Linked DNA regions of Homo sapiens: regions 2 and 3 are each linked to region 1. Evidence: promoter capture Hi-C in 16 types of primary human blood cells and fetal thymus (Javierre and others, 2016). All regions are on one chromosome and are shown on one strand. Each heading gives the region's core, a stretch centred on a gene start or on the middle of the fragment in contact. The rest is flanking DNA. Distances are from core to core; before and after follow the strand shown.

Region 1 (3,139 bases), core at 590-3,089:
CTAGGTTGAAGCTGTGGAGGGGCTACGGCAGATCATTAAATCACAATAACAGCTTGAGGTCAAAGCTGCCAGGCACAAGGCAGGCCAGCTGCTCCCTGCATTTATACAACAGCAGTCTCAGATAAAAACACCAACCATCTGCGAAGTTAAGCAGAAGGTATTGTAGGTGCACTGTCTCTCCCAGCTCCTAGGGGAGAGTTCCAACGTAAGCAACAAAAAACATCTGATTATGTGTTTCAGACCTAACCTTCCACTGTGCCTGTAACCAAGCCTGTCTATGTGAAACGGGTCATAAGTGAACAAATGCCTTTCTTACTTGGAAAGAACAAACATGATATTTTAGGGCCTATTCAGATGGAATTCTTTTCAACAAAGGTAATTACTATCTGGTAGTTATTACCCTGCTCTATAAATTAATCATTTACCATGCAGCAAATAGCATGCCTTATCCTGGCATGGATGATTTCGTGAAAGTGGCCTTTGAAAATGTCGGGTGAGACGTTTTCTGCTGTTACCTACAATTCTAAAATAAGTATAAAAGCAGCAAGATTCGGCTTCCAACAGACTCTCTCAGGATTATAACCGCATAGCCTGATGGAGTTTACCAGCAATCATACATACCTCGAAATTAGAGTGGGAAAAATCATTCCTTGTTAGCTATGGTTAACAGTGTTGGCTGCTAAACACAACATATCTCTCGCGCGCGTGTGTGTGTGATGTTCAGCTAAAGGAAATGCAGTTTATTTCTAGGCTTACCCTGGCTTTTCCTTTGTTAAAGGTGCACCAAAAGCTTGAGGAATATTTGATTTGGGGGTGTGGCAGGTGCTAAAAGAACTTCTGTTCAGTAAGTTCGGAGAGTAAAAGGAGACACATTGGCCTTACTAAATAGCAATCACATTGCAAACTGTTAATTCCCATTTCCTAATGGAGTCACCCCTTAGAACATGGCCTGTAGCAAAAAGACAGCCTTTCTAGCGAGTCTAGGACAAGAATTCTCCCGAGTACAAACTGATGTTTATTGTGGGTTAACGGCAGAAGTCTCTCACTGCAGCACCAACTACGATTTACATTTGGGACAGAGTTATTTCCAGACGTGCACACACACTCTGGCCTCTTTCCTACCAAGCACCCACACTTACCAAACCAGTCCAAAAGAGAAAGAACAGGAATAACCATGCCGTATCTGTGCATTTCCTATAAATCTGGGGTCGCCACTCCCTTTGCCTAGGGGCTCCTTCTGCAGAAACCTTCCAGAAAAAGGGAGAGTTGAGAAAAAGAAGATAAACAGGTGGACTCAACCTGGAAACCGAACCCAAATCTACTCGAAGAGGGGCCAAAGTAACCAATCTTTTTCTAAATTTTTAAAATTAATATTATTTTTTTACGTGGCCACCTGAAGCTCTTTCACACAGCCTTTGAAACACCTGCTCTGCGCGGAGCGGATGTTAAGCCCCCTGCCGCCAAGTGCTTACCTGGAGGTGCACCTGAGGACGACCCCAAGTTTGCGCCCCGCGGCCCGCGTCTCCCCCGCCTCCGCCCCAGCACTGGAGCAGGGTCCAGGTTCCTCCCCGCCAGGTGGCCCCAAGGTACTAAGCGGGGGCGGGATCCCCGAGGCGCGGGAAAGGCGGAAGCGTCCGGCAGGGAAGGTGCGTGAAGGCGGGGGACTCGACCCTTCCCCGGGGCTCCTCCCCCGAGGGCCGAGGCTGCGAGCGCTTACCAGGTACTCGGCGCCCAGGCAGTGCATCGTGCGCTCGCCGGCGGGGGCCGGTGACTGGGAGCCGCCGCCGCCTCCTGTACGCGGAGACGCAGCGCCCGCGAGCCGGGGCCGGGGCCGGGGCTGGGGCTGGGGCTGGGGCTGGAGCCGGGGCCGGGCCGGGGAGGGGCGGGCACGGTGCAGCGCCGCCTCCCGTTCGCCTCTGCGCCTGGCCCGGCGACTGCGGGCGCTGCGGTCCACTGGGTCCGCCTCTTCCCGGCATGGGTTTCTGCCCAGCTCACCCGCTGTCAGCTGGGGTCCTGCTCTGGTGGGAGGAAGAGGCTCAGACGCTTCCCTGCCCTCTCGCCTCAACCACCTCGAGGCAGCGGCTCCCAGGATGTGCACTTTGACGACTAAAGCTGAGCCGGCGCCGCCACGACCTTGGGCGGGTGGTCGGCCTCTGCCCTGAGCAGGAAGTAGAAAGTCTCAGCAGACCCTTCCTGAGGGCCGAGCAACAGTGTAGTGGCGTATTCCACATAGCAAACAGGTAAGCAGCATTTACTGTGTGCTGGATTCTGTTCTCACTGCTATTGTTATTCCTAATCTACGGAGGAGGGAAACTGAGGCACGGCCATTGGTGATGCAACTTGTTCGAGGAGACCCAGTAAGTTGTGGAGGCAGGAGTCGAACCCAGACACTCCGGGAGACCGGCGCTCTCGAGGTGGTTTACTCTGACTTCTCTCCCACCTTGCCTTAGGACAATCATTGCCTGACTTCGCAATTGAAATGGTAGTGTCCACTGAAGCGACTGGTGGCATAGTTTTCCAGGTAGTGTCAGACCAGCGCAAAAGCACTGTTGGGGTGAGGAATTTAAAAAACGAAAAACAAAAAAAACTGCAGGCCGACCTCCCCCCACCTCCTCTCAATCAAGCCTCTACCCTTCCCCCTGCCACCCTTAGGGTTGCTAGGTTAATTGCTTCCTTTAGGTGCTGCTTCTCCCTAAGGGTAGAAACCTGACTGGAGGAAAGATCTGGGTAAGTGGGAGAAACTGGGAATGATAGACAGTGGTTCTCTGGTGCCAGCGATTTCCTTCTGGGCTCACACCACCCTCCCACTGCAAACTCACTGGGCCTTCCTGGATGCATGTTTATCAGACAGAGTAGGTGAAACCCCAGGGGAACATGAATTCATAGGACAAAGAATTAGACACTGGAGGAGTGCAACTACTGTTAAAAGACCACAACTGAATAACATATGCCATCTGAAACTGATCAGTAGAGCAGATGGACCAAGATTTTTAAATAAGCATGATAAATTTATTTAAAATGAGTTATGATATTAGCAATATGAATCAGGAAAAAATATGAAACTAAAACATATTAAGCATAAAAATAATAATTAGAATGAATATTGATGCTACGTATTAGTAATGTGCAATAGTCTAAA
Region 2 (2,968 bases), core at 391-2,890, 260 kb after region 1:
ATCTTCTCAGAAGCAGGACAAACGTAACTCAGAAGCATGAGAGGCATGCAGCCACTGTTGATGGCTGTGCCTGATCTCAGAGGGCCCTGCCGAGAGCAGATGTTTACTTAGCCACTCCTCATGGCTGTGAGCACCCAACCTGGACAGGGAAATTAGTGTGAATTCCAATGCCCAAACACAAATGCCAGGGATCCTCCCTGAGTTTCTGAAGGGAATGTGTGCATACTATTAAAGAGAAGGACAACCGGATAGTCACAAGGAAGGCTGGACTTCCTTAACAGAGATTGTTTATCTAGTTTTAAGCAACTCGAGGTGCTGTAAGCAGGAGCCATGAGCAAAGCAACACGTGTAGGATTAGTTAGAACAGGGATCCCCCACCACTGGGCCATCAACTGATACCAGTCCATGGCCTGTTAGGAACTGGGCTACACAGTAGGAGGAGAGTGGTGGGCGAGCGAACAAAGCTTCTTCTGTGTTTACAGCCACTCCCCTTCAATTGCATTACTGCATGAGCTCCGACTCCTGTCAGATCAGCTGTCACATTAGAATCTCATGGAGTGCAAACTCTGTTGTGAACTGTGCACGTGCAGGATCTAGGTTGCCCGCTCCTTATGAGAGTCTAATGCCTGATGATCTGTCACTGTCTCCCGTCACCCCCAGGTGGGACTGGGGTCCCACTGATGCTACATTATGGTGAGTTGTATAATTATTTCATTATATATTATAATGTAATAATAATAGAAATAAAGTGCACAATAAACCCAATGCACTCGAATCATCCCGAAAAGATCGCCCCACCAACCCCAGTCTGTGGAAAAGTTGTCTCACATGAAACCAGTCCCTGGTGCCAAAAAGGTTGGGAACTGCTGTGTGAGATGACTATCGATTTACAATTCATCAAATAAAACAAAGCATGTCTGATCTGGCCTGCAAAAGGTGAGATAATGGCTGCACTAATAAGAAGTGCAATAAGGGGATCAGGAAGCGAGACACCAAGCAGAGCTGAATGACCTGGATGAATGCATGGCCATTGCGTTTCTGTTCAGGGGAGTATTTACCACTGGGAAAACAGTTGCTTGGTTTGAGAACTAAGCTCAAATAAGGACCTTAGATATAAATCTATTATTGTTGTGGGAACCCATAATACTCAGAAGCATCTCTCACCAAAATTGGATTCATTCCTTTATTCTTTCACTTACCAATATTTGTTGAGCACCTACTGTGTTCCAGATTCTATTGCTGGGTCCCCAGTGCCTCCGAATGAAACAGAGGAAGTCCCTCCTTTCATGGAGCTCACCTTGTGTGGTGTGGGGCTGAGGGAGGTAGAAAATAAACTAGCTAACAAACAAGTGCTATGAAAAGCAATAAAGTGGGTAAGAAGAGGATGAAACTATAGGGTCATGAGAAGGGGCCTTAAGAGAAGCCCTCTTTGAGGGCTATTTTATATAGAGTACTCCAGGAAGGCCTCTCTGAGGAATGACATTGTGCAGGAAGTTCAAGGTAAACCATGGGAAGATGTTGGGGAAAGAGCTCTAGCACAAGGGGAGAAGCGAATGGGGCACGAGTGTGCTTGGCACAGTCAAAGAGCAGCAACAATCCCATGTGGCTGAGATGAGTAAGTGGAGCAAGCGAGGGAGAGAATTGTAGGAAGTGAGACCAACGCTGTAGGCAGGGATCAGACTGTGTGGAGCCTTGTAAGCCATGGTAATGACTGGGATGTAAAGCCACGGAAAAGTTTTGAGCAGAGAAGTGATGGTATCTAACTTCAGCTTTATAGGGATCATCCTAATTGTGTATACAAAATATAGTGGAAGCAGGAATAGCCCAGGAAGGAGACTAGTGTGGCAGATGATTAGCACATTAACATGAGCTTTGCCATCCATACTGAGAACCTCAGGTCAAGTTGAGTTAATGATGAGTTCCTTGCGTTAGAATTCAAAAGTGCAGAAAGTCCGTGGTATACAAAAGGCTTAGGATTACACTCTTCTTTCTATATAGTAGCCACCCACTAGCTACCTGTGGCTACTGAGAACTTGAAGCACAGCTAGTTCTAATTGAGACGCTCTTTAAAAATGATACACTGGGCTGGGCGCGGTGGCTCACGCCTATAATCCCAGCACTTTGGGAGGCCGAGGCGGGTGGATCACGAGGTCAGGAGATCGAGACCATCCTGGCTAACACAGTGAAACCCCGTCTACTAAAAATACAAAACAAAATTAGTCAGGCGTGGTGACAGGCGTCTGTAGTCCCAGCTACTCGGGAGGCTGAGGCGGAAGAATGGCGTGAACTCGGGAGGTGGAGCTCGCAGTGAGCCGAGATCGCGCCACTGCACTCCAGCCTGAGTGACAGAGCAAGACTCCATCTCAAAAAAAAAAAAAAAAAAAAGATACATTGAATTTTGACTTAGTATCCCCTCCACAAAAAAGTAAAAACAAAAACCAGAATGTAAAATATCTCATTAATAATTTTTATACTGATTACATATTGAAATGATAATGCTTGGGATATATTGGGATCAGTAAAACAAGCTCAAAACTCATTTCACCTGTTTCTATTTTTTTAAATATGGCTACTAAAAAATTTAAGTCGCATATGTGGCTCACATATCTCTGTTGGACAGCACTGGTATTCCAAACTGAGTTATACAAAGAAATCCTTTGTTATTTCAAGACTTACTGAAAAAATTTCTAAAATGCATTGCTCATGTCCTGGTTTTAATAAACAAAGTGGTACAAAGCATAGCTAATATAATTGAGTTTCCTTTGATTAATGTAATGTGCTGAAAGTGTGAATGATTCTGCATCACCAAAGCTTTGTTCTAAACATTTCTCAGTGGCCCTGTTGTCTTGAAAATAGTAACAGCGGCTTTTCCATGCTGGCCCTGTCCTTGAAGGAGCCCCTGACCTGGGATCTTCTGCCCCACAGGTTAAGAGCATGGGCTTCATAAGTTTCCTGGCTGAAATCTTAG
Region 3 (3,203 bases), core at 301-2,800, 290 kb after region 1:
TCAGTAACCGGCTGAATGTGTGTTGGGAGAGGGCGGGCCAGGGAAGCGGGTAGGGATAGGAAATCCACCAAGGCCGGGGTTTTAGCTTTTCCCTATATATATATCATGTATCCTGATTTTTCTGTCCCGTTATCACACTAAAAATCCCAGTTGAGGATTTTTCCCAAACGGTCATAAATCAATGAGGAAAGTCCATGGTTTCCCTCTGAGCCCATAATTAGCCTAATTATGCTGACCTTTTCTAATCAGTTGGCCATGATTTGAGTTCCGTGATGTGCCAGCACCTGCCCAGCCATCTGCCTGTCACCCTCGTTCTGGTTTTGGAAAGGTGGAATACTTTCCTCCTCAGCCTTTGCCCCTGTAAGCTGGCCCTAGGAGCCAGTAAAAGAATGAAGAGAATTCCTGTCAAGTAGGAGATTTATTCTTTTGCCGCAACTGTGGCTCTGAGCTAGGCAATTTAGATAAATGCATGTAGCACATTGAGTAGAGTGAAATTAGCTTCTCTTGTAAGGCCAGCTGGTTAGAATGAAGGTGTTGTGTGAGTGTTAGGCCCAGCGAGAGAGAACAGTTTCTCAAGGTAGGAATGGTGAAAAGAAGGGGTGGACGGACAACCAACCAACCATCCTCCTCTGGTATCTACTTTGAGGGTTGAAATAGGGGGCCTGACCCCAGGTGAATGTGGCTGCCTTCCCAGAGCCCCCATTTGCAAGACCCTCCAGACCCCCAGGTGCTTCTGCTTGTGTCTTTTGTGGCACCAGGCAAGAATGTAGCAGCGTCAGCAGCCCCTCTGGTGACTGTGGCATGGTTGACATTCATTTCCCCCCTAATTAATGGCATCCTCATGATTCTCTTTTATATTAATAGTTCTTGAGTTTTTTTGTAAGCTACTTCAAATCCTTTGTTGGTGCAAGATAGAAGATATTTTATGTGTTTGTTTTGCATGTGCACACACATATTTGGCCTGTGAATTGATGTTTGTTTTCCTGTCATTTAACCAAAGCACATGAGATAATTGAGCCATTGCAGAGACCCCGTGGTTAAATCCGGCTTCTCGAGGTACCAAGGACATTTCCTGGGCTTTCTCACAGCCCTACATATTTTTGAACCTAAAATATCGTAGTTTATGCTACCACCCTGTTCAGTATAGTAGCCACTAGCCACATGTGGCTGTTGACCACTTGAAATATGGCTAATGCTCTAAGTATAAAGTACACACTGGAATTTAAGAAGTGTAGAATATCTCAAAACTTTTTTATATTGATTACACATTAAAATGATTATATTCCAGATATATGCAGTTGACTCAAGCAATGCATGGCTGAGAGGCACCGACTCCCTGTGCAGTTGAAAATCCGAGTATAACTTGACTCCCCAAAAACTTAACTACTAATAGCCTACCTATCGGTTGACTGTTGACTGCAGCCTTACCAATAAGATAAACAGTCAATTAACACACATTTTTCATGTTGCGTGTATTATATACTGTATTCTTACAATAAAGTAAGCTAGAGGAAAGAAAATGTTATTAAGAAAATTATAAGGAAAAGAGGCTGGGCATGGTGGCTCGTGCCTGTAATCTCAGAACTTTGGGATGCTAAGGCGGGTGGATCACTTGAGGTCAGGAGTTCAAGACCAGCCTGGCCAACATGGTGAAACCCCATCTCTACTAAAAATACAAAAATTAGCCAGGCGTGGTTGTGGGTGCCTGTAATCCCAGCTACTTGGGAGGCTGAGGCAGGAGAATCACTTCAACCCAGGTGGAGGAGGTTGCAGTGAACTGAGATTGCGCCACTGCACTCCGGCCTGGGTGACAGAGCGAGACTCTGTCTAAAAAAGAAAGGGAAAGAAAGAAAAAAAAGAAAAGAAAAGAAAAGAAAGAAGGAAGGAAGAGAAAGAATTATAAGGAAGAGAAAATATATTTACTATTGATAAAGTGGAAGTGGATCATCATAAAGGTGTTCATCCTCGTCATCTTCATGTTGAGTAGGCTGAGGAGGAGGAGGAGGAGGAAGAGCAGGGGCCACGGCAGGAGAAAAGATGGAGGAAGTAGGAGGCGGCACACTTGGTGTAACTTTTATTTAAAAAAATTTGCATACAAGTGGATCCACAGAGTTCAAACCCATGTTGTTCAGGGGTCAACTGTCTTTGGTTAAATAAAATATATTATTAAAATTAATTTCACCTGTTCCTTTTTACTTTTTCTAATGTGACTACTAGAAAACTTAAAATGACATCTGAGGCTCCATTGTCTTCCCCTTGGGCCAGCACTACCACAGAATGTCTTAGGATTCAGCTCCAGGCCGCCACGCCTGCTTCTTTCAGGGAGCTGGTTCTATGCACATGTTTTATATGAGAGATAATTAAGTTGTCAATTGTGATAACAAAACAGGATTTGACTTTGTACAGAATTCTTTGGTTCCAACCAAGCTCATTTCCTTTGTTTCAGCAAACCTCGGACAGCCAACAATTCAGAGTTTTGAACAGGTGGGAACAAAAGTGAATGTGACCGTAGAAGATGAACGGACTTTAGTCAGAAGGAACAACACTTTCCTAAGCCTCCGGGATGTTTTTGGCAAGGACTTAATTTATACACTTTATTATTGGAAATCTTCAAGTTCAGGAAAGGTGAGCATTTTTTAATTTGTTTTTATGACCTGTTTTAAATTGTGAATACTTGGGTTTTACAACCCATTTCTTCCCCAATTCAAAAATAGCAGAACAGAGTTGTTGAGAAGGTGATGGAGTAGAAGGGGGAGCGCGCACTGTGGGGAGGGGTGGACAACAGGCCTGGTCCTACCTGTGACTCTGCACTACCCTGTGACTCTGGGCAGGGCCCCCTCGGAGACCCAGGTTCCTCAGCCAACCGGCTGGATCAGGTCATCTCTAAAGGTCCCGCCATGCTCACATTTCTCCCTCTATTGAGGATCCCAGGCACAAAATTTGTTTTTGGTTCAATGCATAATACTCCCTTCCTTTTTCTTTTACTGCAGATATCTTCTAAAGGGGCTCAATAGGGTTCAATATGCCTAAATTGGATCTTCTCAGTCTTGGAAAAGGCATTTTTAGCAGTGATCAAGGGAAACTGATTAGCGAAGTCACTTCTAATCCTTCACGTGTCAGCTGTGTTCTTGTAGGCTTTGCTTAGAACCTAGGTTTTTACTTCCACAGTGACTTAATAAAGGGGAAAGAATTGACTCAGAGCC

What was found. The method cuts DNA at HindIII sites, captures the fragments that hold promoters and counts their contacts. A CHiCAGO score of 5 or more calls a contact.
Region 2: a contact is called between a fragment that was not itself captured here and the fragment with the promoter of SLC44A3 in region 1, in 1 of 17 cell types (monocytes). The highest score is 5.0, in monocytes.
Region 3: a contact is called between a fragment that was not itself captured here and the fragment with the promoter of SLC44A3 in region 1, in 8 of 17 cell types (monocytes, endothelial precursors, M1 macrophages and 5 more). The highest score is 12.8, in monocytes.

What each region holds. Positions count from the first base shown.
Region 1 is chr1:94,819,057-94,822,195 of GRCh38, reverse strand. SLC44A3 (solute carrier family 44 member 3) reads right to left here and starts at 1,839. Exons shown (of 15, transcript NM_001114106.3): 1 at 1,718-1,839; 2 at 1,140-1,247. The coding sequence starts at 1,744. SLC44A3-AS1 (SLC44A3 antisense RNA 1) reads left to right here and starts at 1,964. Exons shown (of 6, transcript NR_160780.1): 1 at 1,964-2,240. RefSeq lists a silencer at 1,646-1,835. The HindIII fragment of the contact is 9,215 bases long and covers 793-3,139 here.
Region 2 is chr1:94,560,213-94,563,180 of GRCh38, reverse strand. LOC105378861 (a long non-coding RNA gene) reads right to left here and starts at 78. Exons shown (of 3, transcript XR_001738160.3): 1 at 1-78. The HindIII fragment of the contact is 2,347 bases long and covers 467-2,813 here.
Region 3 is chr1:94,532,512-94,535,714 of GRCh38, reverse strand. F3 (coagulation factor III, tissue factor) reads left to right here. Exons shown (of 6, transcript NM_001993.5): 4 at 2,447-2,625. Among named protein-coding and RNA genes, the nearest start is that of F3, 7.6 kb to the left of the region's middle. The HindIII fragment of the contact is 8,136 bases long and covers 1-3,203 here.